Linked DNA regions of Homo sapiens: all the other regions are linked to region 1. The links are contacts of gene promoters, found by promoter capture Hi-C in blood cells and fetal thymus (Javierre and others, 2016). All regions are on one chromosome and are shown on one strand. The core of a region is centred on a gene start or on the middle of the fragment in contact, and the rest is flanking DNA. Distances in the headings are between cores, read along the strand shown.

Region 1 (3,989 bases), core at 492-2,991:
TCAGGTCCCTGATTTAAAAATTGTGTAGTAGGCCAGACGCCGTGGGTCATGCCTGTAATCCCAGCACTTTGGGATGCCGAGGCGGGTGGATCACCTGAGGTCAGGAGTTCAAGACCAGCCTGGCCAACATGGCGAAACACCATCTCTACTAAAAAATACAAAAATTAGCCAGGTGCAGTGGCGGGTGCCTGTAATCCCAAACTTCTCCGGAGGCTAAGGCAGGGAGAATTGCTTGAACCCGGGAGGCGGAGGTTGCACAGTGAGCAGAGATCCAGCTTCAGCCTGCGCGACAGAGCGAGACTCTTTGTCAAAAAAAAAAAAAAAAAAAAAAAAAATCGTGTAGTTTTGTACACAACTTGCCACCTCCTTCCATGTACCTTAAATAATCTCTAGGCTACTTATAATACCTAATACAACGTTAAATGCTATGTAAGTAGTTGTTACACTGCAGTGTTTAGGGAATGACAAGAAAAAAGGTCTGCACGTGTTCAGTACAGATGTAACCATCTTTTTTCCCCCAGAATGTTTTTATTTATTTATTTTCTTAAATAGAGTCTCTGTCGCCCAACCTGGAGTGCAGTGGCGTGATCTCCGCTCACCGCAACCTCCGCCTCCAGGGCTCAAGCGATTCTCCTGCCTCAACCTCCCAAGTAGCTGGGATTACAGGCGTGCGCCACTGCGCCCGGCTCATTTTTTTGTACTTTTAGCAGAGACCGGGTTTCGCCACGTTGGCCTGGCTGGCCCCAAACTCCTGACTCAAGTGATCCGCCCGCCTCGGGCTCCTAAAGTGCGGGGTTACAGGGGTGAGCCACCAAACCCCGCCGCCCCAAAATATTTTCTATCCGCAGTTGGTTGAATTCACACATGCGGAACTCATGGATAGGGAGCGTATTGTTTCTCCCCCATCACTAGAACATGGAGTCAGGACCGTGCAAGTCCCTCTTGGTCACTGCCGTATCTACTAACTCGGCAGTGCTGTAGACACGTGTATATCTGTTTATGGATAAACTGAAGATGTTAATGAATGAATGAAACCGTCATATTGAGTCTCTGAAACGGCAACAGGATTTGGGTATGGTCTTATCGGGGAGGAAGACGAGCATGACCTTAGAGGGTCATCCCTACAAGGTCCACAGCCCTGCAAGCCCCGCGGCTGCTTTCACGTAGCTGGCAGGGCCACGCTGCACAACGTCTCTAACGCCGTCGGAGGGCGGCCCCCACCTCCCGACAGCCTGGGGTACACCGTGCACCCTCCAGACAGTCAGGGGCACACGGGGCCCCTCCCAGCGAGGGAGGGGACGGGGAGTCACAGGTTCGGCGTAGAAGGCGGCAGCGCAGGTGGGAGCGTGGTGAGGCGCCACTCCTCCAGCTCTCCCCACCGGCGGGAAGACCTCCTCGCCGCCCGCATCCGTGCCGACCGCAACATTTACCATCGGCAGCTATTTCAGAGGTCGGTCTTTCGCCTCCTACAGAGAGCCAGCCTCCTCCTTGTCCCCGCCCTCAAATATCCTTCAGTGAGGACACCGGTGACCTTTGGGGGTGGAGAGGGAGGCGCCTACAAGCCCCTTCCCCTCTCTTCGGCCGGACACAAAGCGGGCTTTTCCACCTAGAGTCCCAGCGCTCTCACCTGCGCACCAGCCGTCGCGCCGCCCCAGGCCGCCACCGCCAGAGGCCCCAGAAACAGATCTCAAGCAGCCGCTGCTGCCGCGGATCCCGACAACCTTCGCGTCGCGCGAGGGCACGGAGCACGCGCAGCTCTGCGGTCGACGCCGGGCCGCCCCCACTCCGCTTCTCCGGGTTTTCCGTGAAGCTCCAGCCAACAGCGGCCGTCACCGGAAAAAACGGGGAGCGAAGTTTATTCAGCGTATATTCCAGCAAATTGTTGAAACTGAAATTTTAAAAGAACGCATAAAATTTAAATAACATATCAAAATGGCACAGCTTCTGCCTTTTGGTGAGCGCTTGACAATGATTTATTGAATGAAAGAAAGAAATAGTCCACTGCGCTCTGCTCTCTGTCCTGACATGACCAATTACAAAGCGCTTGGATTTGTCGCTCAGCGCCAGTATCCCGCCTCTCTGTGCGGTTGTCTGGAAAATCAGGATTTTTACTCTCCCGTAACTCCCGGGATCGGGTTTGGAAAACGGACATGCGCCGTGAGAGCTAGTTGCCTTCTACTAAAGCATCCGCCCTCAGTCCTTCCTGAGGGCTTACAGGGAAGTGCGGAGTTTCGCAGCTCGTACTCTTCACAGATTAGATAATTCACCCGGCATTTCCCCATCCTGCTTCTGGGTTCCAGGACAAAACTTTTATTCTCTTTTAACATTAAAAAACATATAGGAAGTTATGTTCAAACATGGCTATTTTTATTAAAATTTATCCGGCACTGTGAAAGCTACCTTTCCTTTCTCACAATCTTTCGCACCGAATATATGTTCCATTCTTGAGCTAGTCATTTTCCAATGTTAAGAAAACACACCACAGAAAAGCGTTTTTTTTTCTCTCGGTCAGTTCAACTGCCTAGCACCGTGAGTTACCATGATACGTTATTTGCTAATGAGAGTCATTGGGGTCCCAGCCTTTAAAAATAGCCTGCGTCCGGCGCCATTTTTGTTTTGGGCCCACTTTGAAAGCCGCGATATTCTGAACAGAGGCCATTTTTCTTTTGGGCAGATTCCACGGGCCATCGAAGTGTTTCGCTGCCATCTTAAATCCTGGCTGTGGCCTCAATCCTGCAGCGAAGCTGCCCAGATCATTTTGTGTTTGGGCGGCGGCTGAGTTCCCAAACGCGCGCGGAGACCCTGGGAAGGAGGAAGTAAGCGCGAAAGTGCTTCCCTTAAGCTTCTGAAGGTTGGCTGCAGTTCCGGCTACCTGTGTAGTCCGAGTTTCCACAGCCAGGTACTACTCCGCCAGTGACCCTGGACAGTAACAAAACATATAAAGCCCGAGCCCAAACCCCGCCACCATCATAGGTAAGCACATGGACCTCTGACAACCTCAGATGTTCCTTCAAGTGAACTGAACTGTTTGCCCATCTCCTCCCTCCTGGTTTTTGGCTTTGATTTTTTGAGACTTTTCCGAATCCTTCTCCCTGTACTTCCACCTTTCTTCATTGTTTTCAAAAAGCCAAAAAGTTGCTAAACATCAGGATGCCATGAGCATGGGCATTACGGTGGAGATATTATTCAGGAAAGTTAACTGTCTTTGCACAAAGGGAATGCAGTAGATGGGCCAGGTATTTGTATCAAATCATGGCTACCTGCATCCAGCAGTACAAATACCTCCCCCTTCCCAGACATTTTTGGAGATGTGAGGTAAATACAGATTGCGTTTGTATATACTTCCCATTCATTCATTTATTCATTGCATTTCTTGAGTACCTAATTTGTGCTAGGCCATAAGGATTCAGGAGTTAGCTAAAAAAAATCCATTAACTCATGGAGCCTACATTTTATCACCTTGACATCTACTAGGTTGAGACAAATAACAGTATTTTATGGTTCTTAGCACTGCTAGACTGTATAAACAAGTATTTGCTTTCTCCTTCCCCTGAACTATTTTTTTTTATTTTTAGTTTTTAATTTTTTTGGCCGGGTGTAGGAATTAATGGTATTGACACTTACTTCTTGGATCCTAGACATAACGATATTTGTAAGCCAGTTGGCTAGCGTTAAAACTAATATTCCAGTTACTTAGGGCCTTGTTGCTCCAAGTTCATTTCACCTACCACCAGCATCAGCATCCCTGGGAGCTTGTTAGAATTACACTTCATGACTCTCACCCCAGAGCTGCTGAATCAGAATCTTCCTCAAGAAGTGTACCTTAAAGTTCAAGGAACATTGATTCAGGGCATGGGCTAAAGATACAGCCCTTTCTTTCTTTCTTTTTTTTTTTAGATGGAGTCTCGCTCTGTTGCCCAGGTTGGAGTGCAGTGGCGCGATCTTGGCTCACTGCCATCTCCGCCCCCCGGGTTCAAGCAATTCTCCTG
Region 2 (3,989 bases), core at 691-3,190, 8.1 Mb after region 1:
ATTTCTAAGACTTTAATGACTGCTTTCTAAGTTAATAATTCAGGTGTTCTTTTTTTTTTTTTCTCTTAATGGTGATAAAGTAGACCAAAAGGATGGCTCAGCAAGTGAAGTACCCAGTGAACTCTCTGAACGCCCAAAAGGATTTTATGTGGAAACAGTTGTCACATATAAAGAAGATTTTGTTCCAAATACAGAAAAGATCCTCAACTATTGGAAATCATGGACTGGTGGCCCTGGTACAGAACCATGACTGGCTGCTGAATTCTGAAAACCAGGACTTGGTTCAACATTTAAATTTGATAGTTGCCCTGATTCCCATTTTGGGTTTGTGAAAAGTGTATGTATTTAAATTTGCTGTAAAACATAATCACTAATAATATGCAATAAATATTTTCTTGAAGGAAACTATCTGCGTTTTCTTTTTTTTTTTTTTTTTTGAGACGGAGTCTTGCTGTGTCACCCAGGCTGGAGTGCAGTGGCTCGATCTCGGCTCACTGCAAGCTCCGCCTCCCAGGTTCATGCCATTCTCCTGCCTCAGCCTCCCGAGTAGCTGGGACTAAAGGCGCCTGCCACCATGTCTGGCTAATTTTTTGTGTTTTCAGTGGAGACAGGGTTTCACCGTGTTAGCCAGGATGGTCTCCATCTCCTGACCTTGTGATCCGCCTGCCTCAGCCTCCCAAAGTGCTGGGATTACAGGTGTGAGCCACGGTCCCCGGCCTACTATCTGCATTTTCAAGAGGTGTTCCTCTGTATTTGCATGAGTGAAAGATTGCTGTGAAATTTCACATAGAGCTTCCATAAGCTTGATTTCCTGAAACTAGTTAATGTAGATTTATATTTCTTTCATGTTGCTATTAGGCACAGCTTTAGTGGTCGCTTTAAGGTTAGTTTCAGCAAATCTCCATATTCACTTTGGGATTCACAGTAGCCCTTTGGGTACTACTGCGTACTGGGTAAGTATGATATAAATTTGATTGTAACTTCTGAATTAAACAGACTGGACCTATTCTTTAGGACCAGTGCACATACCCCTCATTCCTTCAGCAAGTGTGGATTACCCACCAACTGTGGCCAGTGCTATTCTAATGCTGGGAATGCAGTCAGGACGACATGATTGATGCTGAACCAGTTTCCTCAGTGGTCTCTTGGTTGCAGGCAACAAACACAAGTGAGCTTAAATCAAAAGTGGGTGTTTATAAAAAACGTGTATTGGTAGCTCAGAATTAAAGCAGAGAGTATGGGCCAGGAGCGGTGGCTCACGCCTGTACTCCCTGCACTTTGGGAGGCCGAGGGGCGGATCACAAGGTCAAGAGATCGAGACCGTCTTGGCCAGCATGGTGAAACCCTGTCTCTATTAAAAATACAAAAATTAGCTGGGCATGGCACCGCGCACCTGTAGTCCCAGCTACTTGGGAGGCTGAGGCAGGAGAATCGCTTGAATCTGGGAGGCGGAGGTTGCAGTGAGCTGAGATCGCACCACTGCACTCCAGCCTGTTGACAGCGAGATTCCATCTCAAAAAAAAAAAAAAAAAGCAGTATGTTGTCTTCAGAAGGCCTGACACTGGGACCAGAATGCAGGCAGCCACTTGTTGAGCCTGCCTGGGCTCTTGGCCTTGCTTTTCTTATTGCACACCAGCTGCTTTTCTCACCTTTCTGGAGTAATACAAATATCCCAAGAAGATACTACCTCCCATGTGCAGTGCCAAAGTCTGACCAGCCTCTCCTCAACCTGGTCTTTGGCTTCCACCCTTGCGAGAGACTCAGTTCAGTTTTTATCAGATCCCTGCCTATGGATTATAGAGTACTGCCTCAGTTATGAATAAAGTGGCATTTGTTTCTCATTTAGGTAGTGTTTTCCTGTTCATAGCTGTTGGGACCCTGTGAGTAGAGATGTGATGTGTGGTAGGACAGGAATTGGGCATTTCAGGGTTCCTCTACAGTACTATGACCTTCAGACCCTCATCTTGATTTCTCATTGGTGTCAGTTCCACCATTATGGGTGGCCTGAGCAGTGCTGTGGTGCAGTCAGCCTTAGTGACAAGGATTCCAAAATCACAAGTAACAGCTCCAGATGCTGGTAGCAGAGACTCAGCTTCCCAAGGGATATCAGGTCAAGCATGGATTCGTGCCAATTGGCTGTGTATTCCAGTGGACCATCTTGGTTGGCATCAAACTGATGAATGAGAAGCAGTGTACGACAGTAGATGGGGAAGGTGAGAAGCAAGTGAATCAGAAGTATGGGAGAAATGGGAACAGTAGCATGAACGTTTTGGAAGACATTTCCTAACATGAGGGCTTCCAGAGAAACAAAGGGCAAGGGCTGAGGGGCTGTGGCACTTGGCAGGTGAGAGTTGTTAATAGAGCACACCGAGGATAAACAGCTGAACTTCTACTCTCACCTGGCAGTCTACCCAGGATTCATACACTTGTGGGGCTTAAGGGGACATTTGGGTTAGCTTTCCTTGGGACTTGGCTGGGTTTCTTTGCTAGATCTAATTTATTCTCTTATTTCAGCCCAGCGTTCTCCTGAACTCAAGATCCATGTCCATCTAGCATTGCCACTTGGATATCTAGCCACCTCAGCTTTGTCCATAACTTAAATTGCTGTCATCACCCACAAGGCTGCTCTTCCTTCCGTTCTCTTTCTCAGAGAGTACTCAGTTCCTCAAATTAGGAACCTATCATTCTAGACTTCTCCCTCTTCTTGTTCCTTCTCCTTCCTCCAGCCACCAGGTCCCATCATTTCTACTGCAAATATTCCACTCCATTCCCACCTTCCCATTCCCTTTACCACTACCTTACTTAAATCCTCCATCCTCTTTGCTTATGTAGCCTCAACTTCCTACTCTCTTTGTCTCTACTTGGAGTCCCCTCCAATTGGTTTCTACAGTATTAGCCAGCATGACTTTTTTGAAATTAATTTTTATATTTTTAACAAAGCAACAAATGCATTAAAAAATTAAATAATGATCAAAAGTTTGTAACCAAAAAAACAGTTCCTGCTTTATCCCTCCTTGCTTTCAACTATTAGGTTTTTTTTTTTTTTTTTTTGGTATTTACGTCCACATTTCTAAATAATAAGCTTTTACTAATATCTTTAATTTATCAATCATGTATGGGATTTATTAATGAGGATTTGATCCTCCTTTCCAACTGACTAACCAATAAAACTATTGCATATTTTTGATGAATCAATAATTAATATTTACCCTGTTTTAACTATGCAAACATAGTTTGTTGATAAGCCAAGTAAGTGAGCTATAATTGTTTCTCATATAACTTTTCTTTCTGGAGTTAACTGCACTCTTTTTTTCATTTGCTTTGTTTTCTTGATGTTTCTCTCTCATTCTTTCCACATCCTCTAACCTCACAATATAATTTTCCACACAAACCTTTCCAGTTTCTCTTTTCTGTTTTTAAATCTTGGAGCTCTTTGTCTTCTTGGTACAATCTGGACTGATCACTCTAGTTCTGCTTTGCATCCATTTTTCTTTGCTATTTGCTTTGCCATCCTATAATGGATCTCTGTTTTCTCGATACTGTGTCCCCATAATTCTGAAAAAGGGTATATAATTTTTTGGTGATTTTTCATGTCTGAACATGTCTTTTTTTTTTTGAGACAGTTTCGCTCTGTCACCGAGGCTGGAGTGCAGTGGTGCGATCTCGGCTCACTGCAACCTCCGCTTCCCAAGTTCAAGCAATTCTCATGCCTGAGCCTCCCGAGTAGCTGGGACTACAGGCCTGCGCCATCACACCCAGCTAATTTTGCATTTTTAGTAGAGATGGGGTTTCGCCATATTGGCCAGGCTGGTCTCAAACTCCTGGCCTCAAGTGATCCGCCTGCCTCCACCTCCCAAAGTGCTGGGATTATGGGCATGAGCCAGTGTACCCGACCAGAACATGTCTTTTTCGTATTCTCATACTCAATTACTAGTTGGCCTGGGTACAGAACCCCAGGTTTGATCATTACTTTCCCTCAGAATTTTGAA
Region 3 (3,989 bases), core at 732-3,231, 7.9 Mb after region 1:
AAAAGGTTGAGTTACTACACACACCACTGAAAAAGTTTCACAAGTTGTTCACTGAGGGGGAAATTTCAGTGTTTTTAAATGTTAGGAGGTAGAGTTTCATTGTGGCTGTGTTCATTATGGATTAAAAACTAGCACTCTGGATAGGTCAGAATGAATCCATAGTACTGTTACATAATTGGTTTAAAAGGTTCTATTTTTCAGAGGTCAGGAAAAATTATTGAGTTACAGCCAAGTAGTTTTGCCCTACTAGGGTCACTCAAAGTTTAGAGTTCTTAACAGATATAGCTGAGGGGAGATGGCATTGCTTTATTATTTTCTAAGCAGGTGCTGCTGTAAATGGAATCTTTTCCTTTTACTGTCTCTTCTTTTGCTCTTTTCTTTGCCTAAAATGATTGGATGACCACACAAATATTAGCCAAGTTATCAGGTTTCCAGTTCTACATCTCCATGTTGTTTTTTGTATCATTCTCACATGATTTGTTTCTATCAGAGTCACTTCAATTTCTTTTTGATACAGAATCATCTGTGGTTAGAACTGATGAGTTGGTAGCTCTGCCAAAGTATTAATACCCTGTTAACAACATACTTGACAGCAGCAACAATTAGGAACAAAGACAAAAATAGTATAACTAAAATTTGCAGCGACTCCTTAAACCAACTTCCTACTTGGCCAAACCAAGCAATAAAGAAAATCCAACAGCTGAATGTATCCTTTCTGGGACAACAAATCGGCCTGTTTTCTGAACTTTATTATTCAGAAGCAGGTATTCAAATACAATCAGAAGTGACAGCCAGCACACAAATGCCACCTTGTTTGGTCCATAAATATCCCAAGGCAATGCCTTTGTATAACATCTTTGCAGCAAATGATGTAAAGCTCTTCTGCTGAGTTTGTATAGTAGACGCAGATTACACATGCAGTAATTGCCATTGTAAGGGACAGGCTTCAAGTGTATCTTACTAAATTCAGGCACTCAGAACCAAGAGAGAAACTCGCACACAAAACAATAAAAATCAGTATCTCCAACTACTCCTGAGAAGTCTGCACTTCAACAGGCACATTGATGAGAAAGAATTAAGTCATCTGAGATCTCACTAGGGAGTGTAGATACACTAAATCAAATATTGACATAAAACCATTTCTCAGGGGCAGACTCCTTCTTCTTTCCAACACTGACATTGTGTGGTAATCATACCTTGGCATGAATACCTCAAGCCAGGAAGGATATAACCAGAGTAAATTTGGTACATTCTTTAAGTGTATTTCTCAGATGGCAGGGGGCTGATGTAACAAAATATGCCTGCAGTTACAATTTAAAAGTGTACTTAATTCAACCAGCACAAGGACACCGACTAATTGAATATAAAGAGTATAATTAGTTATGTCCCATAATCATCAGAACAATGTCTTTACAGAAAAGGTAAAAGACCTTGTAGTTGAAATACTCATGTTGTATTTCCAAGAATAGTATTACCAATCACATATCTTAAAATTTTTTAACCCTTTAAACTAATTTTATTTTACTTCAAAACTGGTTACTGAATATCATTAACCTTTGAGGTATATTTCTGTGAGTTAAGCAGAAACATAAATTGACTTTTTAAATGGATGAACCTTATTAAACTTGCAGCTGATTTTTTTGTCAATATTCTAATAAAAGGAACCTCGCCAGCATTTCAGAGAAAGGGCTACAAACCCAACAACCAGTTAAAGTTCCTTATGTAACTATGGTCTTATTGATTATAACAAATTAGCTGCCTATGTGAGGATTTGTCCTAGATCTAGGATAGCCAGAGAAATAAATATAAATTTTGTGACTTACAGTAGTTATCAAATTAACGTGTTCTGCTGACCATGATGGAATAACTGGTATCAGATGATCATTCCCATTATAAATAACCATAACACTGGGGAAAGTATAAAGCAACTATTTTCAGGCCCTGGACTATAGGTTGCACAAAATTGTGATCCCTGAGAGATGGGAAATTCAGAAAATGAGTTCTACGTTTGCCCTGGCTAACTGCTTGGGGACAATTTCCTGACCATGATATGGGATGGTGGGGGAAAGACACACTAGTCTCACTGAGATGAGGAGGCAAAAAAGACTTTAGGGATGGTGAAGCAGATGACACTGGTAGGGTAGGTCTCAGAAAGGAGGCAGCTGTGCAAAGAGGGGAAAGCCCACCTCAGCTGAAGTTGAGCTTTGCTTGTGCAGGGTAAATATGCAATGATTACCAGAAAACAGCTGCTTGAGAGAAGAATGGAAATACTAGAAGTTTAGCAGGGCTGGCGAGTGTAGGCATTCCAGCCCAATCAGAATAAACAAACCTCATTAACACCTCAATCATTCAGCTGAGAAACCAGAGAGGCCATGCCATAAAATAAGGACCACATCTTATAGTAAGGTCTTCTCAAGATATGCTCTAACTGGAACTAAATTAAGGACGTAAAAATATCTGCATGGGTTAAAGAACTTGGAGTTTGAGTCCTGCAAGTTAGAGGAGCCTGGTAAACACTTTGACCTTTCAAAGATCTATCCTAACAAAGAATAAAATGAAGCCTGCACAAGTTCAAAACATTCATCCAGTAATTAAACTGCCTACAGGTAAAAAAAGCACTTTCAGACTAACGTAAGAGAATTTAGAATCATGCCACAAAAAATGTCCTGCATAAAAAAACTTTAAAATTACTAGACATGCAAAAAAACAGGAAGTGTGACCCACTGTTAAGAAAAAAAGGCAGTCACAGAAATAGATCCTGAGATGGTCCAGAGGTTTCAGCACACAGACTTTACAGAAACTAGCATAAACATATTAAAGAAAAATACACACATCACAAAGAAACAAATGGGGGTGGAAATCTCAGTGGAAATTATTTTAAAAAGAAACAAGTGGGAATTCTAGAACTAAAAATGTAACAAATAAAAATTTAAAATTTGCTAGATGGGCTTAAAAGATTGAAGATGGCAAAAGGAAGTTTCAGTGAACCTGAAGACAGGTCAATAGAAACCAATCTGGCAAACAGAAAAACATACTGAGGAAAATTGGATAGAGCTTCGGGAACAATATCAAATGGTCTAACATACGTGTAAGTGGAGACTCAAAAGGAGAAGAAATTGAGAAAGAATTATCCAAAATGAGAAGAAACTGAGAATTATTTAAAGATAATGATGGCTAAAGTTCCTAAATTTAATGAAAAACAATAGCTGACAGGTTAGAGAATCTCAATAAACCTCAAACTGGATTAATACCAAACAACAACAAATGATTTAGACACATGAATGTCAAACTGCTGAAAACCAAAGACAAAGCAAATTCTCAAGAGCGGTGTGTGTGCGTGCACACACACACACCCCTATCTACCCATTCTCAACTATACCAAAACAAACAAACAAACAAAAAAACCTGACCTTCCCTGGGGAAATATGAATAACCTGTCTTTATTTTCAAGTTCAAAAGGCAAAAGTCAGCTATATCTGGCAGCTGCTCCATGCACTGCCTTACCTGCATGAGGGATTTAAGCTGCTCAGTGGGTCAGATTTTAAGCTGGAAGAGAAGCCATTATCACCCAGTGAGACCAGATTGCTATAGTTTTCCAGCACCATCTCCCAGTATAGGTCCTTCTGAGCAGGACTCCACAGGCTTCATACCTCTTAGATGAAATCCACAGCCACAACCTTGAATATTATGAAAAACCATTATGCCAAACACAGCTCCGCTCACTCTGTTGACATGTGTGCCCATGTTGAAAACAAGGGAGCAAGAGGGCTGCCTTGGGGAAGATAGGTAAAATATCTAGGTCCTGCTTTTGACTGTAACTCTGGAGCTTGGATTCCAAGACCATTAACCCTATTCACTATCCAACCAGCATCACTTGCTGTGATCCTAGTCTGGCTATTATGGGCTTTACAAATGAAAACACAATTCCTAACCTTGAGGTGTTTTACATTTAATAGATAACATATTAAAAGAAAATATAAGTATAGAAT
Region 4 (3,989 bases), core at 1,065-3,564, 7.7 Mb after region 1:
TCTTTATAGCAATGTCAAAACAAACTAATACAGCTGGTTTCCTGAATGTTTAGAGCTGGTGACCAGAATATATTATTTAAAGATGGTAAATCAAGCACAGAGGTCTAAATATATTTAAAGGCATAAAGGTAAAGCTTAAAAACAATCTAATCCCTAAGTTGGGCGGTATGAAGAGAGGATATATGCTGATTCCATCATGTTTATGGAAAGGAGTGAAAAAGGCCGGGCACGGTGGTTCGCACATGTAATCCATGCACTTTGGGAGGCTGAGGCAGGTGGATCACTTGAGGTCAGGAGTTCAAGACCAGCCTGGCCAACATGGTGAAACCCTCTATCTGCTAAAAATACAAAAATTAGCCGGGCTTGGTGGCATGCACCTGCACTTCCAGCTACTCGGGAGGTTGAGGTGGGATAATCACTTGAATCCAGGAGGCAGAAGTTGCAGTGAGCCAAGATCGTGCCACTGCACTCCAGCCTGGATGAGTGAGATCCTGTCTCAAAAAAGAAAGAAAAGAAAAGAAGGAAGGAAAGGAAAGAAAGGAAAGAAAGAAAGGAGTTAAAAAAATACTCTCAGGAAGATCCTAGGAAAAAGTGCAAACCATGACAAGAGCATCTAACTGTATTGCAAACATATGAAACGATATCACTGAAGGGGTGGAGGGCAAAGGTGCTGATTTGGTAACTTTGGAGTAAATGAGGTCTATAAAGCCAAAAGCAATAGGAACTGCAAAAAAGCATGGTACTCTAGTAGGTAAAGTTGTTTCCCACAAAAAAAAAATGACATATAATTATGAGGTAAACAATTCTGAAACTGCTATACATGTACACTGGAATCAAACAATTGCGCAAGTGGATGGTGGAAAATGGGAGCCTGAATTCTCACTGATGGAGTAGGAATTTACCAATAAAAAAAGGAGGTTAGAATAATCCATCTGGTAATGGACTAGAGTTGCAGACATCAGCAATATCTCACATTTTAGTCAATATAGATTCAGGTGATTACATATAGAAATATTTGCAGATATGTAACATACACAGATAAGTATACACACATATATTTATGTGCTTTGTCAGCTGAGAGGGCCCAAAAGAAACAAAGCCCCAGTAGCAATAAGCATGCCAGGACCTATATCTTGGATTCCAATATTATTCTACAATAAAAAGAACCTTGGATTCTTGGAGAAATGGCAGATTCTGAGACTTGGGCAGGAAATATACAAGATTAGCTCAGAATATTGTGCAGTGTCAGAAAATAGACAAGTGCTAAACAAGAAAAACACACATTGATGAGGGTCCGTCAGAGAAGCAGAGGAGCTGAAAGATCTCCCAACGGCCAAAGCGGGAGCCATCTGAGCAACAAAATAAAGTAATATTGGATTATAACCCAAAGTATAAAATAAATACCCACCAGTCCACACTGATAGAAACAAATGATTGAATCAGTTACTAAATGGGAGAGAAGAGACAAACCTGTGCAGAATTTCAGATTACTTATATAGATACTGCATTGAATTCATGGTGATTAATTCCAGTACCAGAAGAAAAACTGGCTGTTTTGGAGTTCCTGAGAAAATATCTATTTTCTTCAACATGTCACCTTCCTAAAATGTTTTCAAGGGTAGTTTTAACTGTTTTTGACTTTTTCCTTATGTGCTGACTTCAGAGCCTCAGCCTGAAGAAGGTGGGATTTCGTGGCCTTGTCTGCCTATAGAGCCCACTACAGGGCCATACACAAGGCAAGCCTTCTTGCTTGCATTTAAAATAGTCATAATGGTGCTTTATGCGGTGCCATGTGGTGTGATGTTTCTGTAATCATTTAGTGCTGAGACTGATAAATTTATCAGTCACTGGTGCCAGTTCAGCTGACACCCTCCACCTTCTTCCCAAACAAACCTCCTCCTTCCCACCTCCTCCTTCTCTCTCAGCCCCAATGATGACAAGCTTCTGATCATTGCCTGAAGCCTCTGCCTTGACCTATTGCATTCATGCCCACCATCAAGCCCAGTTTAAACCCGTGCCTCCTACTGATACCTCCTGCTAGGGTACTAGTGATTTACTATTCTTTAAGACAGAAGTGACCCGAAACCCAGCTCTCCCAGGATAGCTGCCAGGACCTGGCCATGATTCAAGCCCAAATAACATAAGCCAAATTACACACTCAGTGAGGAAGGCATTTTTTTCAAGTCCCCACCCTTGTGTGAGTGAAGGTGGAACAAAGATTGTGTGACCATGTTGTTCAAACACAGGAAAATGACTGCATTCCCTCCCCTTAGTTTTCATTTGTTGATTCTTCTCCAAGCCCTGACTTCCAACTGTACTTCTTTTTTGATGCTGCCTCTTGCTTAGAGGATTCTGAAGGGAAGGACAGGGTAGTATGCTGTTCTAAAGAGTATGGGACTTTATCCTGTAGGCATGGGGAGCCACTGAGCGGTTTTTAAGGTGGTCAGCTTCCTATTTTTGTCTTTGGAGGTAAGTTCACTCTGAAGGCCAGCCAATGGCAGGGCAAGGCACCCACTGTCCTCTCCAGGAAAGCAGTGGCCATTCTGGGCACACCTAAGTCAATCCAAAGCTGAGAGGGGCAGGAACTGATGTGATCTTAGGATGCCGAGACACTAGAATATAGCCAGATACACAAGGTTCAGATGTTCTGGCCTTACAAGCAAATTGTATTAAATCAGCCATGCTTCCTAAGCTTCGTCCCACCTTGGTAAACATAAAAAATAAGGATATCTGTACAACTCACTGGGATCAACTTGCGTGAGCTTGGATAATTCTAAAAGGAGCTTCATGGATAATAATTATTTACATTTCCTTTATATGGTACTCTTATAAAAAAGAAAAAGAAAAACAAAAAAATAAATGACATATAATTATGAGAAGAAAAATAAAAGCAAATCTTGGGGTAGATTTAAATATCAACTTTGGGTAAAATTTCCTGATAACATTCTTCTTGGAGTCTCTTTTAAATATCAAGTTTTGTGTTAAAAATAGTTCCTGATCATTGCTCCTGCACATAGTTCTTGATCAAGATTTTTTTTTTTTTTTTTTTTTTTTGAGATGGAGTCTCACTCTGTCACCCAGGCTGGAGTGCAGTGGTTTGATCTCGGCTCACTGCAACCTCCACCTCCCGGGCTCAAGTGATTCTCTTGCCTCAGTCTCCCAAGTAGCTGGGATTACAGGCACCCACCACCACACCTGGCTAATTTTTGTATTTTTAGTAGAGACGGGGTTTCATCATGTTGGCCAGGCTGGTCTCGAATCCCTGACCTCAAGTGATCCACCCTCCTTGGCCTCCCAAAGTGCTAGGATTAAAGGTGTGAGCCACCACGCCTGGCTGATCAAAATCTTTTTAAATGATCATCTCTTTAATTTTTGATAGTTACCATGGAGAAAAAACTTTTTTTTTTTTTTTTTTGAGTTGAAGTCTCACTCTGTCACCGAGGCTGGAGTGCAGTGGCTCACTGCAACCTCTGCCTCTCGGGTTCAAGCAATTCTCCTGCCTCAGCCTCCCAAGTAGCTGGGATTACAGGCATGCGCTGCCACATTTGGCGAATTTTTGTATTTTCAGTAGAGACGGGGTTTCACCATATTGGCCAGGCTGTTCTCGAACTCCTGACCTCAAGTGATCCACCTGCCTTGGCCTCCCAAAGTGCCTGGAATACAGGCATGAACCACCGTTCCCAGCCAAAAAGCTATTTGATACAAGAAGTGATGATAAAATGTAAAGCCATCGGCTATGAACCAATGGGAAAAAAAAGAAAAAAACACACAATAAAAAATCAAAAGGAAATAAAGACAATAAAAGAAACAAAAAAGAGCCATTTTTTTTCTGTTCGTATAGTTATGTAAGATTTTGTATAGAAGTGTATCATGCATGTATGTGTGACCACACAGCCTTGGTGTGCCACTGGACCAATTTTCACAAACACCCAGTACCAGCACCCAGTACTAGAGTTCTAGATCAGCCTAGCCAACATGGTGAAACCCCA
Region 5 (3,989 bases), core at 430-2,929, 7.5 Mb after region 1:
TCACTTCATGATCAAACCAAGATGCACAGGAAATAGGTTTGACAATTTACCTTTACCAAGAAAGACGATTCAGCAACAGTGGTAGAGCTGCCTGTTTGAACTTAACCTTGGTCATCTCAGTTTGAAATACAAATGGCAGCATGGAGAGCAGGCTGCCCGCTTTTTGGTTGGACATTTCTTTCACTCTTGAGTTTGAGGTACAGCAAATTTCCCAAATCATTCAGATGTAAATATTCCAATACTCAGACCAGGGGCCCATTCAGGAGGCTGAGTGCAGGAAGATGGCCTGAGCTCAGGAGTTCGATACCAGCTTGGGCAACACAGCAAGACTGTCTTGAGAAAAAGAATTCTAAACAAAATAAATACAAGAATTCAAAACAAAATTCATGAAAGATATAGGAAGGGTGAGGGAAGAAGTCCAACATTTTATCACCCACCAGCTACCAAGTATCTAACAGCACAATGTCCTAGCTCTGCGGTGCTCTTGAAAGAAAAAGTGAAAACCCTGACAAGGGAGCCATCTGGATTTGTATTCCTCACCATTTACCATGACTAGAATGCTTAGGAGTGTGCCCTTCAGAAACTGAGCTTTTCAGGCAGAAAATTAGTTTTCTCTCCAGACCATATAGGAATGCCTAAAAAAGTTATGCCAAAATGTAAAAAGAAGAGTCAAGCCAAGGACCCCCATTTTTAAACTTAAGTGTTGGCTGCCCCTCAAACTGCAACTTACTCCTCCTGGGGTACTATGGTTTGCCTTTAGGCAGCATGTGAAGGTGTGAAGATCTCTTTTAGGAGATCTTGTCAGAGTACCTCAATGGCCAATCAGAAAACAGGTATTAAGGGTGAAGAAGCCACTTTTTGGAAAGTTAGATCATGCAGAGAAACTTAATTTACACTTTAATAGCCGTTTCTCACTATTGGGATCATTAAAAGTTAGACTGTTTCCTTAAATACTATTTAACTTCACTACACACTGTTGTGACCACGGGCTATTTAAGACATTCAGGGTACTAACCTATAGATCTGTTCTCACCTAATTTGCTCGAGCATCAAGACCCTGATAATAAAGACAGAAAAATGCTGAAACAGCAGAATTTTAAACCAAGTTCCCCTCTGCAGCACAAGAAACTCAGGTAAGTTTCCAGTGTCCAAAGCCTACACTCACAAACACAAACACGAAGCCCTCCCTTTGCAACCCTCAAGTACCCAGAACCTGCTGAAGAAAACCATCTTTCACCACCTTTTGTTAAGGTTCCTCAGTATTAGTGGAAAAGCTTTATTCTCACAAAGATATCCAACAATGCTAATTTTTACATGGCATGTTATTTCCTTAGGCAAGATTAATAGAAAACCTGAAAAATTCGCAACAAGCACACAAAGACTAGCTTCTGTAACACAACCTGACCCCACCCATATCACACCATTTTAGAAGGAAGTCCGTTTAAACCAGTGATTCTCAAACAGGCAATTTTGACTTCTTATCACCATGGGAGGGGAGGAGGCCGCGTCCTAGCAGAGGCCAAAAACAGTTGCTTCACATCCTACAACCCAGAGGGCACTCCTCAACAAAAGTGATCAGGCTAAAATGTCAACAGTGCTCCCCAGGTTGAGAAACTGAATTTTAAACTCAACCTCTAGTTTAGATGACCACTAGGTCTCACCGAATGAGGAGTTTACAGCTCAGAAACAAATCTAGAAAACTTAACAGCCTTGGCCAAGCACAATGGCTCATGCCTGTAATCCCGGCATGTTGAACTGGATGGTGAAACCCCATCTCTACCAAAAAATACAAAAATTAGGTGGGCATGCTGGTGTGTGCCTGTAGCCCCAGCTACTCAGGAGGCTGAGGTGGGGGTGATCACCTGAGCTCCCCAGGTCGAGGCTGCAGTGAGTTGTGATCGTGACACTGCACTCCCGCCTGGGTGACAGAGCCAGACCCTGTCTCAAAAAAAAAAAAAAAAAAGCCTCTTGGCCATTTCTACCTATGGCCAAAATAATGTGAACAGATAATGACCTTTTAGAGTATTCACAAATGGGGATCTTAAGACACCGAGTACAAGTTACTGAACTAGAACTAAGGCGTGGGAAGCTTGATACGTCATACTTCCTCAACTTAGAAAATAGTTGCAAGGGTAGCATAAAGCTTCAGTCCACAAAGTTTGTAAGTTTGGACTTGCTATGGTATTGGTCAAAGTTCAGGATTGTTCCTATACTAACCAACTGCACTCCATTCTAGCTAATGGAGAACAAAAATACCCCTAGAGGCAGCTTCCACACCAGTTAAACACGAAACCAGAGCAGCAGTACTTAGTCTACAAACACTCCTGAGTAGGTAAGAGGACAGATATCATTCACCAAAGTCCCTGTAACCAAGCAGTAAGTTAAGGCCAAGTTGTTACTGTCAAGGAAGGAGAACCCCCTAGTTAAAAATAGCACTAGGCTGCGAAGGTCGAGTTCAAATACCAGCCTGGCCAACATGGTGAAACCCGGTCTCCACAAAAATACAAAAATTAGCCGGGCATGGCGGTGAGCGACTGTAATCCCAGCTACTTGAGAGGCTGAGGCAGGAGAATCGCTTGAACCCAGAAAGCGGAAGTTGCAGTGAGCTGAGATCGAGCCATTGCGCTCCAGCCTGGACGACAGAGCGAGACTCCGTCTCAAAAAAAAAAAAAAAATCAAAAACCAGTAAATAGAGGACCAGTTAGGAACCAAATTAACCATGCATCTCTTCCCCTGAACTATTTTCTGAGGAAGAAGGCAAACCCCAACACCCTCGGCTAAAGAATGTAACAAAATGCCAGTGTCTGGCTACCAGACACGACTGACACAGTATTCCCTTTCAGTTTTGCTGAATTGGCCAAAATGAGTATTGGGCTAGAATTCAAAATCCTGAAGAATCAAGTATGTCCCCCTACCTTAGTGAGTCTTAATTAACTCCATCCTTAGGGAGAATTCCAAACCAAAGTAAATTATCAGGAGGGCATTTAAACAATTTAAGTAACACACATTTCAGGTAACACACAAAACATTTCAGTTGACTACCGAAATTGTATTATGGCAAAAAGTTGCCCAAGACTTAGTTTCCCATTATTTCATACTTGCCCCAAACTCCCTTTCAGTTAACCATAACACCATCTAGGCCAGACCACAGCAGGTTATCAGCATCAGCAGAGATCAGAAAACAAAAATAAAGCCACGCGTCAGGGTAATTATTTATTTTTATTGTCTCTTTATTCCTGTAATGTAAAAAGGAAAACAATGTCATGTAACTCTCTTCGCTACAGATACGGACAGTTTCTGTAGCCTCTAAAACAGGCAGGAAATGGCCTTCATAACCATTCTCCAATTTTGCTGGAGGATCAGGGTGGTGGAAGTCATTTTAAAAACCAGCTGCAATATACTGTACTACCAGAGAGTGGGGTGAAGCAATTGAGTCCTTTTACCTAGCTGACTCCGAATCAAGACAGCTAAAAGAATGTACCAGAAAGAAAGAAAAAATAAAATGCTACCAAAATCCCAATCCATTATCTACCCTTTATGGAGAAAAGTACCTTTATAATGTTTTACAAAGAATCGTGGTCTCAAGTTTCCACTTTGTTTTAGTAATAAAGAACTTTCAAAAAAAAAACCACTCTAAACAACACCCTCCTGTATAGAAAGCTCTATTTTAATAATTAATGCAATGATACCCTTGTTGGAACAATCCAGCCGCTTTGAAACTCTGGTATTTACTTACTAGATGAACAAGTTTCTCTATGGAGGTGCCTTTAACTTCTCAAGAAATGTGTAAGTTAAGACGGCTCCAAATTACATTTTAAGAGAGCCTTGTATTTTTAGAGGTTCTTTTTCATCGGTCAGAAAAACTTACGTTGACGATTCTGCAAGAAAGGTTGCTCGCAAACCATGCATCGCAAAGCTACCGAGGCAAATTTAAAGAACCAATGAAAAAGAGTGGAGGCTCGTCTGAATCTTTAATTGGCTATGGGAAT
Region 6 (3,989 bases), core at 1,066-3,565, 7.2 Mb after region 1:
AGGCCTCCACTGGCCCAAGATCCCTGCAAGCCGGCTTTGCGGTGCTCCATGTAAAAGGAAAACTTCACCTACTAGGAGGTCTGCCCCGGCCTTTGCTTCAACAGAGAGGGAAATGGCACCTCCAGGACCTCAGAACCGGAAGCTTCTTTCTGGAAGGGAAAGAGGTTGGCATATGATAGTGGGAGTGACCTTTGGCAAGTTCGTAAACGAGTCAAGACATCACACAGTAAGTGACATGCTGCAGGGTCACAGATTTCTCTAGGTGTCGGATTAACAGGAAGTTAAATCAAACAAGGAGTGTGAGGAGGGAGGCGGGGCAGTGGGAGAATGCCCCCCAGCTGCACAGGGCGGGGTAACATTCGCAGTTGTTCTTCCTGGGAGTGCCAGACAGACGTCCTGGGTCTCTGGGGACACCCAGTTCTGAAGAGGTATCTAATGTGAGATATGAGGCCCTACCAGGCCCATTTCTCCAAATTCCTGAAAATGCCATCCAGATGGCCCCTACCCTGAAGGTTCCAGCACGCAGAGTGAATAGCTGAGCAGTGACGTGGGAGGCTCCTCAGGTCCCTCAGAGTTTCATTTCCTTGGTGCTTCCCAGTCTCTCCTAACCTCTGACCTCTCAGAGTAATTGCCAAATTGCCTTCTGTTTGTACAAGGTCCCAGCACTTCCCGGCGTGGTTCCCGACCCTGTGAGTGGGTGGTGCTGTCTTCAGGCCACAGATAAGAAACTAGGATTCAGAGGGGCTATGGGACCTGCGAGTAGGCGGCCAGTACGTGGTCCGGGGTGTAGAACCCCGGCTGTGCAACTTCTGCAGCCCCGCGCCCGCCGCAGTGCCGGAGCCAGGCCCCACCTTCCTCCCGTGTCCAGCACCCCCCAACAAAAGCATCCCAACTGAACAGCCAACACTTGTGGCTCCTTCCTACAAGTGCTGGGTCTCCACAGCTTTCCTCGCAAATCGAAGCTAACAGGAGCCCCGATTTGCAGACCAGGAAATGGAGACCCCGAACGAAACAACTTGGTCGGGGTCACCCTCGCCAGCCGGGGCACTCTAGAGCTAAAACTCGCGACTTATCATTCGGAGAGGGGTCCCTGAAGCACTGCGGGCGCCCCACTGGAAGCGCAGACCCCGGCCTGCCTCCCCTAATCAGGGCGCAGCGGGAGAGCCGGCCGGGCCGGGGCGGGCACCAGGCCGGGTGCCAGCGCGCTTGGCCGGCCCGGAGGTGTCCGCTTCCGCCCGGGGCTGGCACCGCCGGCCCATTCATCGTGGCCGCGGGCGGGGCGGGCCGGGCCCCGGGCGCCCTCGTCCCCCCGCCGGGAGCCCTCGAGCCAGGCTCCGCGCAGCCCAGCCGGGGAAACGGTGGCCCCGGCCCCGCCGCCAGGGGGAGCAGGGAGCCGCCTCCCGCACTCCGGGAAGTTGCCACCGCGGCCGCCCGGCGTCCGTGCCATGGACAGACCCGGTCCCTGCGCCGCGAGCCCTGCGGCCCCGGCCCGCCCCGTCGGGGGCCGTCCCAGCCCCGCGAAGCGCCAGCGGGCCGCGGCCCGGGACCGGCGCGCTCGGCCCGTGGGCCCCCATTCAATCCCGCCCTCCTCCCCTCGGCCGGCCTCCGCCGCCTTCCGCCCGCACCCCACCCCTCCGGCCCGGACTCCAGCCCGGCAACGTCATCCGGCGGCTTCCCGAAACTTAACCCCTTCCTCCGCCAGCTGTGCGCCGCCCCGCCCCGCCCCGCCGCCAACTTTCTTCGCCCAACTTCGGAGCGCGCTGGCCGGCCCGACGGCCCTGCCGGGAGGGAGGGAGGCAGGGAGCGGTCGCCACGTCGCGCCCGTCTGCCGCCGCAGCTCCCCGGACGGCGAGGGCCGCGGGGTCCACACCACGGGGCGCGCCCTGCCTACGCCCCGGTACGGCGCTTGCCCGGCACCCCCGCCCCGAGTCCGACCCCGACCCCGATGGTGCACGGCCGCGGCGGCAGGCGGCGGGCGGCGGGCGGGCCGGGGGAGGGGCCGCCGAGGAGACGTGTCACTCGCGGCGCAGCGCGGCCGGCCCCGGCCCCCCGACGGCCCGGCCCGCGCGCGGCCGCTGCAGGGCCCGGCCAAGTTTCTTACCTGCAGCCAGAGACGCGAGAGGGAAAGCGAGAGGGCAGGAGCCGCCGCCTTCGCAGCCGCCGCGGAGCCGGGAGAGAGGAGCCGGCCAAGCCTCCGCCAAGAAACCGCCCCCGAGCAGCTGTAGACGCTGCGACCCTGACGCCGCCCGCCCCGTCTGCCGTCCGCTCCGGCCGCTCGCTGGCTGCGTGCGCGCGTGTGGAGTCGTGGCACTTTCTGCCTCAGAGCTGGCGAACGGCCCCCTCCGCCGGGATCGCCGCCTCCTGCCTTCCCCACCCGGGCCAGCCATTCATCGAGCCGCCTCTTCCCATTGGTCCGCACCCCGCCACTCTGCCGGTCGCTGGCCAGTCAGGACGCGGGTGGCCGAGCCGCGGCGGCGGCCATTGGGCAGAGAGGAGGGTCTCCACCTCGGCCAATGGGAGAGGGGAGGAGCTGCGGGGAGGTGAAGGGGGCAGGGCTGGGGAGAGGCGGGGCCGAGCGGCGCGGCGCTCGGCCGTGCGCGGGGCGGGGCGGAGCAGGAACGCCCCGCCCACCGAGGGGGGGGTCTCCGGCCAGCTCCGCCCACTCTGGGCCCGCGGCGCTCCCAGCAGTCTCTGACTAGGATCCGGCTCTGCCTAGGCGGGAAGCAGAAGGTTCGGGTCCCGGCGACCCCGGGCCTGCGCCTCTGGATACCGCTGGGCTGACATGGCGGTGGCTGAACAGGGTTGCGCAACCGCGAACAGCCAAGGAAGCTGCTTTATTTAAACCCAACTAACTTCCCCCGAAGCAGCGCCCCCTCGGGCCGCCGGGTATGAGGACAAGCTCTGCTGGGGGTCAGCCCAGGGAGAGCAAGTTCTTATCATCAAAGAGATTGCAATCAGCACCAGAAGGAATTTCCTTCAGTAAATGGAGGAATTGGGGTGGAAGAGCCAGAAGGTGCACGAGGAATTGAAGCGGATGTCATCGCCCTCGTTGTTAGGGAGGGTACAACTGAGGCACGGTCTATTTAAGATACTCAACCAAATCACAGCCGGCAGAGCAATAATTACAATCCACTCTGTGGCGTTTTATTCCATGCGTTGGGGAAGGTGAGAGGTTCTAACCTAAGAAAACTCATCCGTGTCCCACAAAACGGAGCAACTGGTACTTCCTCATTCCCTGACTTTCTCCCCAATATCAGCCAACACTCAGTCTTCATAATTAGTCAAGTCTTTAAATTAAAATAATTTTAGGCTTGATTTTTAACCATTATGTCAGCGTCTCTTAAAGCCAACCCTTTGAACTTGAGCCAAAGCCAGCTTCTTTGGAATTTTGGATTCTGAGCGACCAAAGGCTGCCTAGACTGCCCCCCATCACTTCCCTAGCTCCTGTTGCTGCAGAATCCCGTGCCTAACATCTATTTCTTGGACAATTTTCAATCTTCCCTGTCCCCATTTGTCACTAGTACTGTACTAGCTGTTGTTAGAAAGATGTGAAAAATACAAGCCTTCATGGGGAATAAAGAGCGATTGGGTTGAAATTAAACTGTTCATTCCTATTTTTAATCTTGGCGGTTCCTTAGCCCATTAATGATTAATCAGCAGGAATTAACCTGGATTAACTCTGGAACACTCAGTCATTTTCCAGCAGTGAGACCCGGCTTCAAATGAAAGTCAAGAATCCCAGCTTCTGGCTGGCAATTGCTACCAATGAGTCCTACTTGACCAGGGCTGGGCCATCTAACCTTTCTGAACATGGGTATACTCCTTTAGGACAATCACTCCTTCCTCTGGGTTTCAGGGAGGAAATTCATTCGTTCATTCATTCATTCATTCATTCACCGGTGTTTGTGGAGTGCCCGGTATACAGTGCTAAGCTGGGCAAGCAGCCTAGAATGACACATAGGTCCAGTGAAGACCCAGCTGCCCTCAAG
Region 7 (3,989 bases), core at 1-2,500, 7.1 Mb after region 1:
GGGTAAGCTCGCGCCGCCGCGTCAGCTCAGCGCTGGGTCTCTCGGTCCCGCAGCCGTGAGGAGGACGGTCTGCATACTCGCTGCCCGCCGGCTCCCTCCCCCGCGTCCCTGCGACCGCCGCGGCGAAGATGGTGAGTAGGAGGGAGGCCGAGGCGTGGGCCGAGGCGGCCGGGAGCAGTGTGTCTCTGGGGCGCCGCGGAGTCGGGGCTAAGGGGGTGAGCCGTGCCTCAGCCCGGGGAGGGACCCGGTCCGGCTGCAGTGTCCGGGCTGCGGGTGAGGGGGGGTCTCTGGGCCTCCGTCTCCCGCCGTCCTGGCTGGGCCCCCGCGCCCCGGGGTGGATCCGCGGCTGTTGCGCAGCTCCCAGCTGGGGCGAGGCCGCCGCCCTGAGCGTGGCCTCTGCGGGTGTCTCCAGACCCGGCCTTGCAACAACTGGCTGGGGTCGAGCGCCCCCACCCGCTCTGTGAAATCCATCCGGGGGTCTGCACACCGAGGCCGGGGAGTGGGGGGCGGGGGGCGTCGGAATCCGGCCACCGTCCTTGTTGGCGTGGGTTTCCCCAGAGCTGGCGCTGAGGCGCTTGGTGACTTGTGCGCGTTCCAGCCCTTGAGGTCTGTCCATCTCAATAAGGAAGATAAAGCCTTTATGGAACAGTCCTAGAGCACGGAATGATCGCTAACGAGCAGGATCCTGGCATGATTTAGAACGGGGTGGCCTTGCAGCTCCTTTGTTTTTTTCTTTTTATCTGGCAATCGGCTTCCAGCAGCACTCTCGTCGTGCTTGTCAAGCTTGGCAGTGTCTGTTTTAACCCTTCCCTGCCCGATCTGTCCGTGTATGGTTAGAATTTTTTTTCTGACCTGTAGACAGTTGGACTCTGCCAGAACTTGGTGCGCAAGGTGTGGGCATGATGCTGGGATGCTGATACAACCAAATTTAAGAGCTTTAAAAACCATTAAAATACTGGAGTCACCAGAAAGTAAACAGGTGCTCATTAGTATATTCTATATGATGGACATTTTGCTTAATTTACATATTTTCCCCCTTTACACTGTCACTCTAATTAGCTATTTAAAAACGTATTCTCAACTGAACTATCAGTTGGAACATTTTGTCGTTTTCGTTAGTGTGCACACACTGTTACCATTTTTGGTCAGTGATTTGCAGGCGTAGCCTTACCAGACTTTGCTAGAAATATTACACTGTAATTGCATCTGTCTAGAAGCAGTTGGTACCAGCTTATCTGCATACAAACTGTTTTCACTGTATAACAGTTTTGGTTTTCTTAAGTTACTACAACTTCCGTGAACATGCAGGCGGCCCCTTAGTGAAAGAAAAGATAAACCGGTAGTTTCTTGATGACTGTAGATATGTATGTAATAGGGATTTGATACTGTTCAGTTTTTGGTTCTTCTTTGGTTTAATGCTGTAAGCTACAAAGTATCAGCATCTTGAGTCTTTTTAATATCTAATTATTAGAAATTTAATAACATTTTAAATGTATATGCTACTTTATACTGAAAGACTTAATCTAGGGGCTTTGAGTTATGGTACGCTTAAGACCATTCACTCTGTGAAAGTGCTTTGAAGCTGACTAGGGTCTGCTCTAGAGACTTCTGATTTGACATTATGCTTTTTTATTGAGTGGCTAATACAGACTTTATTTTTCTGTTTGAAAATAAGAGACCAAACATTTTACCTTTAGTTAAATGCTTAGTTTTAGTTAAAGCTTAACTAAATTCAAGGAAGGAAGGGTCTGTTATATTTCCTGGTTCTTGTGAGGAGTGGGAGAAATAAAAATTAGAAATGAGCGATTTCCAAATACGCTTCAAAATTGTTGGCTTTAGGGAGATCAAGAAGACCTTACAAGTTACTCTTAGAGTTCAGATTATAGACCCCCCATTTTTAAAGGTTATTTTTGTTTTTAGCCTTATGAGCGCAGGAGCATCTTTGTTTAGTTCAGTGATTAGAGAATATTGTGGGTATTATCCCAGAGTCTAGCACTTTGCTTTTAGCTCTTTTGGTTAGATGCTTGGTTCCAAGTTTCTTTTAAGATTAAATTTTAACTACCGATGGGTTTGTTCTAAATTAGCAGAATCACTTCCTTGTACTCACCAAGTCTTTTAGAAGCACCTGAAATAAAGCAGTTTGAAACCAGCTGGGCGCTTCAGGATGAGATTAGATGTTTTCAGATGTCTCCTCCAACAAAAAACAAACAACGTCTGCCTCCACGTGAACCACAATTACAGACCCCAAACAAAACGTGTGTGTGTGTGTACTGGGTGTGCCAGCCTCCTTATACAGAGATTGTTTAGTAGCCCATCATCAAGTTACTAAGGTTATTTGCTCAGTAGTTCTACTGGATATGGATTGAGACATCACACCTAGACTTGCCTAGCTCCTCTTGTAACCAGAGTATCTTTTATGCTTCTTGGAAAGTAAGAGTGTAGTCTTGCCCCTGAAGTAGAGTTAAAAGGTTTGCACGATAATCTAACCCTTAACCTTATCCTAATCTGGACTGTGGTCTCACAGACTGAACTAATTGGCGCAGTATTCAAGTATTCTAATACTTGGTGATTAGCAAAAACACTACAACCCAGTGAAATAGGTTGGGCATGTATTCACATGCCTATTTAACATATGAGAAAACAGATTGTAAAGGATTAATTGACTTGAGACAAATCACCTTTTCCAACTCCAAGTTTTAAAATAATAATTTTGAAACATTTTAAGCAGAAAAGTACACAGAATAACAGATCCTTTTGTACAGGAAAAACAGGGCTATCTTATTGCCATATTTCAGGTTTTTATGTTATCATTACAGCTAAATATGCATCATCTTCCTCATCCCACTCCCTTCCCTCCCTAGAGTTATAACCATTCCTGTGTCAAAGACATAATATCCTGGCTGGTTAAGGAGATGATTTTATTCAGGCTATTGCAATTAGGAGAGCATTCCTGATTGCCTTATTTGAAAATATGCAACAGGCCAGTTCTTTGCAGTTACCTGTTTCCCAGAACACAAAACGGTGGGGTGGATTAACCATCACTGCTTTCTGAGAACACAGAGCTCAGGTAAAGTTCACAGTAGTCACCTGAAATTGATATTCATTGATAGTTCCATACTTTTAGCTACTTAATCATTCATATGTATTGCCTTGATGTGCTTTTAAAACTTACGTAAATACTGTGCTTCATGTATCCTTTTGCAGCTCTGTGAGAAAAAATTAAACTTTGTGGGGGTGGTTTTTTTTTTCCCAGGGGAGGGCAGCTTTTGGATTTATTTGTAGCTTTGGTTCTTCAACTGCTGAATTGTGTTCTTTTGTATGATTGTGCAAGTTTATCCATTCCCCTGTTGATAGACATTCAGCCATTTCCTAATTTTTTGCCTTTTTTTGGTCTATTTAAAGTTTTTATAATAGGCAATTTCCATGTCATATATTGCTATATATTACTTCTCTAGCCCCAGTGTGTATCTCTCCATGGTGTATATCTAGAAGCGGAAGCCCTGGATTGGAGCATACATATTTTCTACTCTACTACTGGTTCGTTCTGGTTGTATCTCATCATTAACAGCTTGTTTCTACATTGCCTTTCACCACTTAATAAGAGACTTGAAACCTTTGCCAGTCTGATGGTTGTGAAATGGTTTCTCATTATTTTATTTTGCATTTCTTTGATTACTAGTGAGCTGACTCTTTTCATATGTTTATTGCATCTTAGGTTTTTACACGCATGCTGCATCCTGCAAACCTGGCCATTCTGTAAATACTTACCATCTTCACCTAAGCTTATTTGCAGAGCCATAAAGTAAATGTAGCAGTAAAAAAAAAAAAAAAAAAATCAGCTGGATACAGTGGCCTATACCTGTCATCCCAGCACGTTGGGAGGTTGAGGCAGGAGGATTGCTTGAAGCCAGGAGTTGGAGACCAGCCTGGACAATATAGTGAGACCTTGTCTGAACAAAAAAATTAAATAAAAATTAACTGGGCATGCT

What was found. Contacts are between HindIII fragments. The CHiCAGO score rates a contact against its expected background, and 5 or more counts as called.
Region 2: a fragment that was not itself captured here is called in contact with the fragment with the promoter of MKKS in region 1 in 3 of 17 cell types (total CD4 T cells, activated CD4 T cells and naive B cells); the score reaches 11.7 in total CD4 T cells.
Region 3: a contact is called between a fragment that was not itself captured here and the fragment with the promoter of MKKS in region 1, in 1 of 17 cell types (non-activated CD4 T cells). The highest score is 7.0, in non-activated CD4 T cells.
Region 4: a contact is called between a fragment that was not itself captured here and the fragment with the promoter of MKKS in region 1, in 1 of 17 cell types (non-activated CD4 T cells). The highest score is 7.0, in non-activated CD4 T cells.
Region 5: a fragment that was not itself captured here is called in contact with the fragment with the promoter of MKKS in region 1 in 5 of 17 cell types (activated CD4 T cells, total CD4 T cells, total CD8 T cells and 2 more); the score reaches 12.0 in activated CD4 T cells.
Region 6: a contact is called between the fragment with the promoter of RRBP1 here and the fragment with the promoter of MKKS in region 1, in 1 of 17 cell types (non-activated CD4 T cells). The highest score is 7.5, in non-activated CD4 T cells.
Region 7: a contact is called between a fragment that was not itself captured here and the fragment with the promoter of MKKS in region 1, in 1 of 17 cell types (activated CD4 T cells). The highest score is 6.5, in activated CD4 T cells.

The regions. Positions count from the first base shown.
Region 1 is chr20:10,432,481-10,436,469 of GRCh38, forward strand. MKKS (MKKS centrosomal shuttling protein) reads right to left here and starts at 1,742. Exons shown (of 6, transcript NM_170784.3): 1 at 1,628-1,742. SLX4IP (SLX4 interacting protein) reads left to right here and starts at 2,825. Exons shown (of 8, transcript NM_001009608.3): 1 at 2,825-2,973. It overlaps LOC128706665, which reads right to left and starts at 1,742. Exons shown (of 3, transcript NM_001394148.2): 1 at 1,628-1,742. It overlaps LOC128706666, which reads right to left and starts at 1,742. Exons shown (of 3, transcript NM_001394149.2): 1 at 1,628-1,742. RefSeq lists enhancers at 1,589-1,648, 2,539-2,768, 2,929-2,978. The HindIII fragment of the contact is 4,604 bases long and covers 1-2,840 here.
Region 2 is chr20:18,569,156-18,573,144 of GRCh38, forward strand. It overlaps SMIM26 (small integral membrane protein 26), which reads left to right. Exons shown (of 2, transcript NM_001348957.2): 2 at 81-405. The coding sequence ends at 250. Among named protein-coding and RNA genes, the nearest start is that of SMIM26, 3.7 kb to the left of the region's middle. The HindIII fragment of the contact is 2,280 bases long and covers 801-3,080 here.
Region 3 is chr20:18,282,272-18,286,260 of GRCh38, forward strand. No RefSeq gene overlaps it. Among named protein-coding and RNA genes, the nearest start is that of ZNF133, 4.3 kb to the right of the region's middle. The HindIII fragment of the contact is 4,298 bases long and covers 1-3,989 here.
Region 4 is chr20:18,132,005-18,135,993 of GRCh38, forward strand. No RefSeq gene overlaps it. Among named protein-coding and RNA genes, the nearest start is that of KAT14, 3.9 kb to the right of the region's middle. The HindIII fragment of the contact is 751 bases long and covers 1,940-2,690 here.
Region 5 is chr20:17,963,726-17,967,714 of GRCh38, forward strand. The region is part of intron 1 of SNX5 (sorting nexin 5); the gene reads right to left. Among named protein-coding and RNA genes, the nearest start is that of SNORD17, 2.8 kb to the left of the region's middle. RefSeq lists enhancers at 2,485-2,564, 3,782-3,989. The HindIII fragment of the contact is 815 bases long and covers 1,273-2,087 here.
Region 6 is chr20:17,679,927-17,683,915 of GRCh38, forward strand. It overlaps RRBP1 (ribosome binding protein 1), which reads right to left and starts at 2,316. Exons shown (of 25, transcript NM_001365613.2): 1 at 2,102-2,316; 2 at 73-149. RefSeq lists enhancers at 1-809, 1,001-1,673, 2,927-2,986 and silencers at 1,247-1,556, 1,587-1,636, 1,667-1,996, 2,227-2,646. The HindIII fragment of the contact is 11,518 bases long and covers 141-3,989 here.
Region 7 is chr20:17,570,081-17,574,069 of GRCh38, forward strand. It overlaps DSTN (destrin, actin depolymerizing factor), which reads left to right. Exons shown (of 4, transcript NM_006870.4): 1 at 1-131. The coding sequence starts at 129. Among named protein-coding and RNA genes, the nearest start is that of DSTN, 2.0 kb to the left of the region's middle. RefSeq lists silencers at 1-125, 146-435. The HindIII fragment of the contact is 938 bases long and covers 782-1,719 here.